2 separate regions of the Homo sapiens genome follow, and region 1 is linked to region 2. Evidence: promoter capture Hi-C in 16 types of primary human blood cells and fetal thymus (Javierre and others, 2016). All regions are on one chromosome and are shown on one strand. Each heading gives the region's core, a stretch centred on a gene start or on the middle of the fragment in contact. The rest is flanking DNA. Distances are from core to core; before and after follow the strand shown.

The links. The method cuts DNA at HindIII sites, captures the fragments that hold promoters and counts their contacts. A CHiCAGO score of 5 or more calls a contact.
Region 1: a contact is called between the fragment with the promoter of OR6T1 here and the fragment with the promoter of OR8B2 in region 2, in 1 of 17 cell types (erythroblasts). The highest score is 6.4, in erythroblasts.

Annotation. Positions count from the first base shown.
Region 1 is chr11:123,940,843-123,946,116 of GRCh38, forward strand. It overlaps OR6T1 (olfactory receptor family 6 subfamily T member 1), which reads right to left and starts at 2,996. Exons shown (of 1, transcript NM_001005187.1): 1 at 2,025-2,996. The coding sequence starts at 2,996. The coding sequence ends at 2,025. The HindIII fragment of the contact is 1,522 bases long and covers 2,963-4,484 here.
Region 2 is chr11:124,381,435-124,386,914 of GRCh38, forward strand. OR8B2 (olfactory receptor family 8 subfamily B member 2) reads right to left here and starts at 3,065. Exons shown (of 2, transcript NM_001005468.2): 1 at 2,940-3,065; 2 at 960-1,926. The coding sequence starts at 1,909. The coding sequence ends at 968. The HindIII fragment of the contact is 13,920 bases long and covers 1-5,480 here.

The DNA.
Region 1 (5,274 bases), core at 1,746-4,245, 440 kb before region 2:
CTTGCTGAGAAAGTTTCAACTAGTAAATCTGGTGTCTCTTTCCTGATATCACTTTTTGGACACAAAGTACATTGGAAGAGCTTAAAATATTTTTAAATTTCTTTGAGACAAGGGTTCTCTTGAAATATTGGACCCTGAGTCCCAGTGGAGACTGATTGATTGATTGACTGTTCGTCAATGAGGAAAAAGGAAATTACCTTGGGCAAATCACTTTCTTCCTCATAGTTTCCTAGGGTCACTGTTGTTGCCATCAGTGTCATCATCATCATCATATTAATAACATTTAGTTAGAACTTACTATGTTCCAGACACTGTACCAGGTGATTTACATTTATTATTTTAATTTTCTCAAAATTCTTAGGAGGTAGGTATCATCTTTACTTTAAACATGAGTCCATTACAAATTAGAGACATTAAATAACTTACTTAAGGCTACAGAGCTTGTTTTCTGGAATTCAACCCAAGTCTATACAACATCAGAGCCCAAGTGCTCAACAGTACCTAAAACGTCTTATAGATTCTAAGGATCTGTGGGTTTATGTCATCACAGATAGAGTTTATATCATCGTGAGTTATACTGACATCATAGATAGACTTGGCATTTGATCCATCTTTTAAAATATGACTTGATCATTCTCTCCCTTACAATCACTCAGAGGCTTTCCATTGCCTTTAAAAAAAAAATCCACATGACTATTATAGATAAGATGTTGTCTGACCTGGCCTCCACCCATCTCTCCAATCTCACTTCTCTAACTCCACTCTTTTCTAACCCTCTGTTTGCATTTACTTCTGTCAGTTTCTCTTTACTTCTTGAGTTTGCAAATACTCTTTGCTATCTCTGGGATGCTCTTCTCTTCATCCTTGCCTGGCAAACTGTTGCTCAATCTCAATCCTCGGTCTAAAGGTCACTTCCTCAAAGATGTGTTCACTGATCTTTAATCCGAATTAATTTGTCCTTATTAGTTTCTCTAACAAAACTCAAAAGTATTTATCACAGATTTCAATTACACACTGATTTATGTATTTATTTATTAATATTTTTTGTCAGCCATCGCCCACTATACTATAAATTCTATAAAAGAAAGGGCCGTGTTTAGCTTACTTAATACTGTATTCTCCAAGCCTAGCACCACAGCCTAGATGAGGGTGCAGCAACAGAGGGGCCTCATGTCAACAATGAGCAGACATTTACTATCGAGTTTGTACACAGCCTGACCCTGCGCTAACACTCCCCTAAAAGTGCATGTCTCTTTAAAATTTGTTCTGTAGACATCTTCCTTGGCTCACCCTAGTTGGAGCCTTGCCATATTAGAGATTTAATAATATTTCTTAAAGGAATGATTAAATGAGTGTTGCCATATTTCAGTTTGTTGCCATATTTGAGTTTGTTAGTAGAGTTTGACTTAGGAATTAGGGCTATCCAAATATTTCACTGGTCTTAACATTCTTCCTTTATGAGATTCCTATAGGAGCTGCTAGTTACATAAGGAGCAATAACAAATGCAAATCAGAGAACCATTTATTACTGCAGCCAGAATTTGATTTTCTAATAATACAGAGGTTCTGGTTAATTTTATTTGCAGTACCCAGTCTAGTTGGAAGACCTCAGAGACCCTCTTACTCCCCACTGAGCTCCAAATCTGAATCTCCATATTTCAGCATCTTCTGATTGGCTACATGACACAGGAGACTGAGGCAGTAAGAAAAGTGTTTAAGCACACACGAAGAGAAGGAGGAGCCTCCCTGTATGCGGGTCACGTGCTCACACATGCTCTCCAATCCAAGGATTCCATCTTGAAAGAAATTTGACCAATTGGATCAGCCTTCTCTGTGGGGAGGAGGAGGCACAAGGAAGGTTGTAGGGAGGGAAAATGAAGGTTTACCACCGTATTTCATGTTGTATATTTATGAAGACTGTTCTTTCATTAGCTGAGAAAAGTGAACAGTGTTGCCTACATCCCTTAAACTTCTTGCACATTTAAAAAATTTTCAATAAACATTTAATCTCCCATTTAATAAGATCATTTCCTTTGACTTGTGACCCTCAGTTTCATCACAGCAGTGAGCCTGGGCCACCCCAAGGCTTCTCTCAGTGCTTGCTGCACCTTGTCATTGCGGAGAGTGAAGATGAATGGGTTCAAGAGGGGTGTGATGATGCAGCTCAGGACGGAGGCACCTTTGTTGAGCAGTTTGGACTGAGCCTCTGACATACGAATGTAGAGAAAGATGGAACTGCCATAGATGATGACCACCACTGTAAGATGCGAGGCGCAAGTGGAAAACGCTTTCCTTCGCTCAGCAGCTGTAGGGGCCCTGAGAACAGTGGCAAGAATGCAGGCATAGGAAACTGAGGTCAGAGCCAGTGAGCCCAGTAACACCAACGTAGAGAGCATGAAAGCCACCAGTTTCAGCAGGTGGGTGTCCCCACAAGAAAGCCTGAGCAAGGGCCAACTGTCACGAAAGAAGTGGTCAATACCATTGGGGCCACAGAAAGGCAGGCTGGCCATGAGGACAGTGGGGCAAAGGACCCAGAGGAATCCAGCTAGCCAGGAGGCCAGCACTAGTTGGGAACAGACATGGCCATTCATCAGGGTCTCATAGCGGAGTGGTCGGCAGATTGCCAGGTAACGATCCAGAGACATGACGGCCAAGAGGAAGAAGTCAGTGGTGCCTAGAAAGAAGTAGAGGTAGGACTGGATGATGCAGCTGACAAATGAGATGGTGTGATCCCCCGTGAGGATGACGACAAGCATCTTGGGAACCACAACAGTTACCAGCAACAGCTCCAGGAAGGAGAAATTCCGCAGGAAGAAGTACATCTGTATGTGCAGGCGTTGGTCTATCCAGCTGAGCACAATAATTAGCAGCTTGCCTGTGGCTGTTACAATGTAGGTCACCATTAACCCCAGGAACACCAGGAACTGTATGAGGTGGCTACTGGGGAAACCCAGAAGGACAAAGCTTGTTACCTGAGTCCAGTTTTCAGGGTTCATCTTCAGTCACCTGCAGGGGAAATGAAACAGAACTCTGTAACTGGTCTATAGCTACCAATCATCATTTAACCAATCGGTAAAATAATATTGAACACCCAACACTTCCTTACATTCTGAGAATATGTTGATCTATAGTTTGGTCTGCACGTGACTTACAAAGAGAGAAACAAATTACAATAGTAAGCAGCATGGCAATATTGAACATCAATTATATATCTGAAAATTTACACGGTGCACAGTATCTCTTCTCCTAGCTACTCTTAAAACTATGTTTTACTATTTTCAAAGATAAGAAAAGGATGACGAAGGGAGTTTAAGTGACTCTTCTATGATCAGGTAGGAAACAGGTGGTAGAGGCAGGATTTCATACTGAGCTTCTGTGACTCCAGCACATGCTGCTGATACTGTTGAGCTCAGGCAGAGAACCGTGTGAGTAGTGTGGCTTTAGACGAGTCCAGAGGAGTAGAGGGGTCAGAGAAGACTTCACAGAACAAATGCACCATGAACAAATTTTACTGGTATTAAGAACTCTCATTTTAGTGTTTATGGTCCTTCTGTGTCCTGGCTTGACATAAAATAACAGAATTTAAAAATCTGGGCTCTCGGTATACTCAGAGATTTAATTTTCATTAGTCAGCCATGAAGCCAAATAGGACCGGATTGTGCAAAGCCCAGTCCTGTCATAAAGTGTTATTTTTCTTTTTTCCCCCAATCCAGACTCCTGTAGAATGCTAGAAATCCTTCTTCCTTGTGGAATGCTTACTAGCTTCTCTTACCTTCAGCTTGCTCAATATTCTAATAGTATAAAATGAGGAATAAGGGAGAATGGTCTCAAAGGAGATGGTATATATCAACTTGCCTTCTCAACTTTTGCCTTAATTTGGAGATATGTTCATCTTGTCCTTGGAGCTTTTGGAATCCTGTAAAATGTATCCACATGTTTTGAAGGACTGGATTTCATTAGACAATTAGATATCTTGGGTTCTTTTTTTTTTTTTTAAACATCTAGCACCAAATACTCAGAATCACATAGATTTGGCCTAATCAGGGAAAATGGAAAATGTTCTAAGACAAAAAGAATGAAAATGAGCATCAAGTTACATTGTTTAATTGACAAGGAATGAAGTGTTGAGAGTTTAGACAGTTTAACTGAGGAATATCTATTACTTCAGACCAACAGTGTTAAAGACGAGGAGCACAGATATTTTCTCAATTCTGTCTGAAGCTACTTTAACAGATAGTATTGAACTGAGGCAAGAAATCCAGGTTTGAAGGATATTTCTGTTCTGTTTACATCAATTTTGGAAAGAATAAGTCTGGGATTTAAGTAGCTAAGTAATAATAATGCTTCATTCTGCTAGTCTAGGGCTTGTGTCTCCAAAATCAAAGAAATACCATAATAAAACCCAGCAAAGGAGGCCAGAGCACTGTTTCAGGATAACATAATCATTTCAGATAAGGAAAACATGCTACTGTGGCTATTTCCAAAGCTTTGGTTAAATATTATTAAAAGTAACTTATAAAGTCCGTCAAACACACAAAATCAGTTTCTGGCTACTGTGATAAAATACATGCACTAAAGTCTGTTCTCTAGCCTCTCTTTGTCAACCTGAATAACTGCTTATCAGTTCTGGAGAGCCTCATCAGTTGGCTGGCTGTCTCTCAAAATGCCAGACCATAACACTATCATCCCTGTATACGCATGTTTACAATTTTGTCATTTTCAACCTCAAAATAATCTTAATGCTTTAAATCATTTGCTTAATGTCACACAGTTAGAAGTTGTTTGTACTATAGTTGGAAATGTTTTTTTGTTCCTATGTATTTTGCACTAAAAATACTGGTTAACAAGATGAGAATCAGTGAAGGGAATTAGAACTTTGAGGGACTCACATGCACACATTTTTCATTGACATAATGATCTAATTTACACAATTAGATAACTATTATTATTGTCCACTTTATAATTGAGCAAACTAGAACAGTGTGGGAAAAAAATACCCACCCTCAAACACAAAGCTAAGATACACATCTAAACTTATCTGACTCTGGTGTGTGTCTATGGCACTAGTGGATAAGACCATGAAATTTGAACCTATCAAGGGAAAAAAAGGATGTGGATTTAGAATGCCATAATATAATGATGCTTCTAATGATAACAGCTAGAACTTACTGAATAGTTACTATATGCCAGAGACTTTGTATTTATTTCATTGTGAAATATCTCAGCAACTATACGTTATTATTCTCTCCATCATACAGGCAAGGTTTAGGGTTC
Region 2 (5,480 bases), core at 1,815-4,314:
AGATAAAGTTTAAGTAGGCTCACAAAATATTTGTAGAAATATAGTTTATTAATATTAATATACATTCCTTATGATAAACCACACTGGATAAGGAAAATGTTGTATAAAATATTTCTACTAACAATGTGCAGTATTTACCTATAATGAGTAAAAAATAACATTTACAGTAGGAACTACATGCTTTTTTTCAAAATTTTCAGTGCTGTTTTAGACAGTAATAAATGAAGTTTTATAATGTAAACTATATTCCCCCTTATTGGAATCCTGAGGTGCACATGTATTATTTCTCTAATCATCCTCTGTTAATGCTGCCTTTGGCAATAAAAGGTGGAGATACACATATTCTCTGCTGTATCAAATGGACTGGAATGATAGAGGTTCTCAAAAGCAAACGGCATGTGGTACAAATTTTGCCATTCTCAAAGGGAACAAGAAAAGTCAGAATAATAAAAGGCAAAATGGTGACAACATAGAACAAAAGGACAAGATCAAGGGGAACTGATTCTGCTTTAAATTACCTACCATTTGTAGTGGATATATTTCATCAAATCCAGCTGCCTATATCTGTAACAATGTTGATAAAAATAAGAATGCTTCTATCATATTTGGCACTTCTGTGTTTAGGTGAGAAAGCTGTGACTTTGACATTTTTATAATTCATGAAATTTACCACATTTTTCCAATTAAGAATAGCCCAGGAGAGAGGAAAGGTAGAAAATGATGAAGAAAAATATCAGTGCATATGTTCCCTTTACAAATATGCCATGACCTCTTTAGTAATATTGCGAGAAGTGCCAGAGATGCAAAAACAAAAAAGAAGACACAAGATGATCTCATAAGAGAAATGATAAGACAAGTTTATTAAATCACACATAACACCATCTGTAGAAACAACAAAATCTCTTCATGAAAAACACTAATAAAAATTTGAAGTCCTTCAATTGTTTTACATCATTACTGCTTCTAATTAGAATATATTTCTCCTCTGAATTTTAATCAGAGCTTTCCTCAGTGCAACTTTGACATCCTTGTTCCTCAAACTGTAGATGAGGGGATTGAGCATGGGCACCACATTAGTGTAGAAAACAGAAGAAACTTTTCCCTGCTCCATAGATCCAGAAGAATATTTAATATACATGAATGCCGCTGACCCAAAAAACAGAGACAGAGCAATGACATGAGAGCTACAAGTACTGAAGGCTTTTGATCTTCCTTGAGTGGATTTGATATGAAGAATGCTAGTGACAATGAAAACATAAGAAATGAGGATGGTACAACTGGGTACCGTGATATTAGTACCCACAACAATGAGAACAACCACCTCGTTGACATAGGTGCTGGTGCAGGAAAGCTGGAGGAGGGGGAGTATGTCACACAAGTAATGGTTGATGATATTAGCACTGCAGAAGGTGAGTCTAAGCATGCACCCGGTGTGGGCCGTGGCTCCAGCCAATCCCATTATGTAAGCAGCAAAAGTGAGCATAGAACAGACCTGATGGGACATGGTGACCTTATACAGCAATGGATTACAGATGGCCACATAGCGATCATATGCCATTGAAGTCAACATGTAACATTCAGAGATGACGAAAAAGAGAAAGAAAAACAGCCGAGTCATGCACCCAACATTGGAGATAATATTCTTTTTTGACACAAAGTTCATTAGCATTTTGGGAGTGAAAACAGAGGAGTAACAGAGATCAATGAAGGAGAGATTGAAGAGGAAATAGTACATTGGTGTGTGGAGGTGAGAATTTAGACCGAAAAGAGTGATCAAGCCAAGGTTGCCTACCATGGTGACAATGTAGATCACTAGAAACAGGAAAAAGAGGGGTTGCCGGAACTCTGGATGATCTGTTAATCCAGCAAGAATAAATTCAGTCACTAAGGAGTTGTTTCTAGCCAGCATTTTTTGTCTTCAAAAATCTGGGAAGACAAAAGAAAATTCTATTAGGAACACAGATTTCTTTTTACAAAATCTCATTAATGAGGAGGGGACTCAGGCTGTAGGAATTTGGGTGAGTTCTTTGTTTCATGGGATCTGAATGTACTGAATGTACTGCCACTCCCACTCCTCAACATTTCAGTCAGTGTCTTTTGTCTGTACAGACTGAATGTGACAAACAATTGCTCCTGTCCTTACTAGAAGACACAGAGGTGGAGTAGCTGAGGCACAGGCCTACCTGCTGTTGAGCTTGGGTTATATGGATGTGTCTCATCTCCCTCACTTCCATCTGTCCCTTCACTTCCTAGTTTCTACTTATGTTTCCATTATTCTACTAGACACTTCAATTTCCCTGTGATGACCACCAGGTAAGGGAGGATTCCTTTAGGGCGGAGACCATACTGATATTCTGTTTCCTAGACAGGGGTCTCCTATAGGGTTTCTAGATACCTTACTATAAGAATCCATGAAGTCACCGGGTGATAAAAGAAGACCCTTAGTAGTCGAGGCCTTATGATTCACCACATACAAATCACATAAGTGTTTCTACACATTCTCCTCTATTCCATCCTAGCTAGACAGAGGATGAAGAAAGGAAGCTGAATGTGCTTTCACAGGTCTTTGTAGGAAGGCATAAGGGAAACATAATTAATTTGGGTACAGTTATATTAGTTGTTAAGTTTGTAAAATTTTACCAAACTGGTATTTTTATGACCCTTAAACTCTTCTATATGTATAGCACATGTCAATATATTTTTAATAAAGAGACAAATCTCCTTTCCTGGCATTCCTCTGTTCTGGATGTGTCACTTGGAACTGCTATTGCTATCCTGATACCAGGCTGAGAATGAAGCCAACAGAGAGAACAGTGTGAGAAAAATGCAAGCCCGAGAGTCAGAGCTCCATACCACTAAGTTTCTTGCTATTGAATAAATACTTTTCCCCATTTTTCAGCAACATCCAGGAGAGAGAAATAGAAACTTGATTAACTCACCTTCCTTCCACTCAGAGAACTCAGTGCTGACCATTGATATGTGTTTCACCTCCACTGCCCTGGAGGTAGAACTGGTGGTGAAGGTATCTACGTTGACCACATGTAGTCAAAGAATCTTCTTCTCCCTTACCTGGCAAAAGCATTGAGCATAGATCTCAGAATCTGAATGTTCTGGGAATCATTCTGAGGTGTAGATCAAACTATTTATAAATTTGCCAAGAGGGTTTGTTAGAAAATCAGACTTCACACCAGACCCACCATGTCCACCGTCATAGAGACATGGCATTTGCTCAAGGCTCATAATTCTTAGACCTGATTACATACCAACAGTAAGTCTCTCTCAGGACCTCCCCTACCATGACACACTCTGCAGGGAAGAAATTATATGCCTGTGTTTACAGCCTAACTTGTTGTTGTAGATGTAAACTTTTCATCAGGGATTATACAATCCACAGGGCATAGGAGAAAGAGCCTCTGCTGTCATGTATAAAGATGTAAACATAAAGATTGTCAGAATTTTTGCTAATTATAATTATCGGCAGTGTTAGCTTTAACAAGTATGTATGTATAATTTAGTAAAGTTTATTGCTATGCTCATTTTTAATATTGTGAGTCCTTTTAAATAATCCATTTTTAGTTTTGCATACTTTATAGGCAAAAAGAAAAGAAAAAGAATAAAGAAAAGGATACTTTTAATTGATTTCAGATTTTTTAAATAAAATTTTGTGTAACATAGAATGATCCTTTATTTCATCAAAATTTAATTATCTTGGGTTGCTCTAACTCAACATGTCTTTGCCTTTAACAGGTTAAAATCAAATCTGTAAGAAAAATCACTAATCATGTGCCCTCATTTTAAGACAGTATGACTTCAGAATTTCCCGGTAGGTAGGAATTTGTGCTTGTGAGAAGGCATCTATATTTTTTACCTTTTTATTTTAAAATTATTAGAATCACAAGAAGTGGCAAAAGTATATGTAGATTCCCTTGGACACTTCACCCAGCTTCCTCACACAGAGACATCTTCCACAACTGTAGGACAATAGCAAAATCAGGAAACTGACATAGGTTCAATAATGTTAAAGAAACTACAGACCTTATTCAGCAATTTAACATGCGTGTGTGTGTGTGTGTGTGTGTGTGTGTGTGTCTGTGTGTGTGTGTAGATCTATGCAGTTGAATCCTATGTACCTATTTATGTAACAAAAACCTAAGTCAGGATACAGAATTCTTTCTTTTTTTTCTTTTTCTCTCTCTCTCTTTTTTTTTTTTTTAAAGACAGGGTCCTACTCTGTCACCCAGGCATGAGTGCAGTGGTGCAATCACAGCTCACTGCAGCCTCAACCTCCAGGACTCAATAGATCGTCCCACCTCAGCCTCCCAAGTAGCTGGCACTACAGGCACATGCCACCACACCTGGCTAATTTTTTAATTTTTTGTAGGGATAGGGGGTCTCACTATGTTACCCAGGCTGGTCTTGAACTCCTGGTCTCAAGAAACCCTCCTGCCTCAGCCTCCCAAAAGTGTTGGGATTACAGGCATGAACCACCATGCCTGGCCTCTAATTAATTCTTAAACAGACTTTTAAGCATTCCATTTGTTCTGCCCCATCCTCACTTCTTCCAGAAATATCTGCTGTCGTGAAATTGTGAGAATGTTGGAGACTGTGTGTAAATCAGGTGTGTTCTTGGTTTTCCCAGTTCTATCATAGGGTCAGATGTTGTAAGAATGCCAGTGCAGATACTGCTTGTTTATCTACTGTCTAATTTCCAAAATCTGGGAGTTGTTCTAATTCTACCTTTTTTTTTTGTCCCTGGGAGCGAACACCATTTTTATTTTTATATATTTATTTATTTTTTTCCCTTCTGATTTGCTTCATTTTTTTATTTTATTATTATTATACTTTAAGTTTCAGGGTACGTGTGCACAATGTGCAGGTTAGTTACATATGTATACATGTGCCATGTTGGTGTGCTGCACCCATTAACTCCTCATTTAGCATTAGGTATATCTCCTAAAGCTATCCCTCCCCCCTCCCCCCACCCCACAACAGTCCCCAGAGCGTGATGTTCCCCTTCCTGTGTCCATGTGTTCTCATTGTTCAATTCCCACCTATGAGTGAGAATACGTGGTGTTTGGTTTTTTGTTCTTGCGATAGTTTACTGAGAATGATGATTTCCAATTTCATCCATGTCCCTACAAAGGACATGAACTCATCATTTTTTATGGCTGCGTAGTATTCCATGGTGTACACGTGCCACATTTTCTTAATCCAGTCTATCATTGTTGGACATTTGGGTTGGTTCCAAGTCTTTGCTATTGTGAATAGTGCCGCAGTAAACATACGTGTGCATGTGTCTTTATAGCAGCATGATTTATAGTCCTTTGGGTATATACCCAGTAATGGGATGGCTAGGTCAGATGGTATTTCTAGTTCTAGATCCCTGAGGAATGGCCACACTGACTTCCACAAGGGTTGAACTAGTTTACAGTCCCACCAACAGTGTGAAAGTGTTCCTATTTCTCCACATCCTCTCCAGC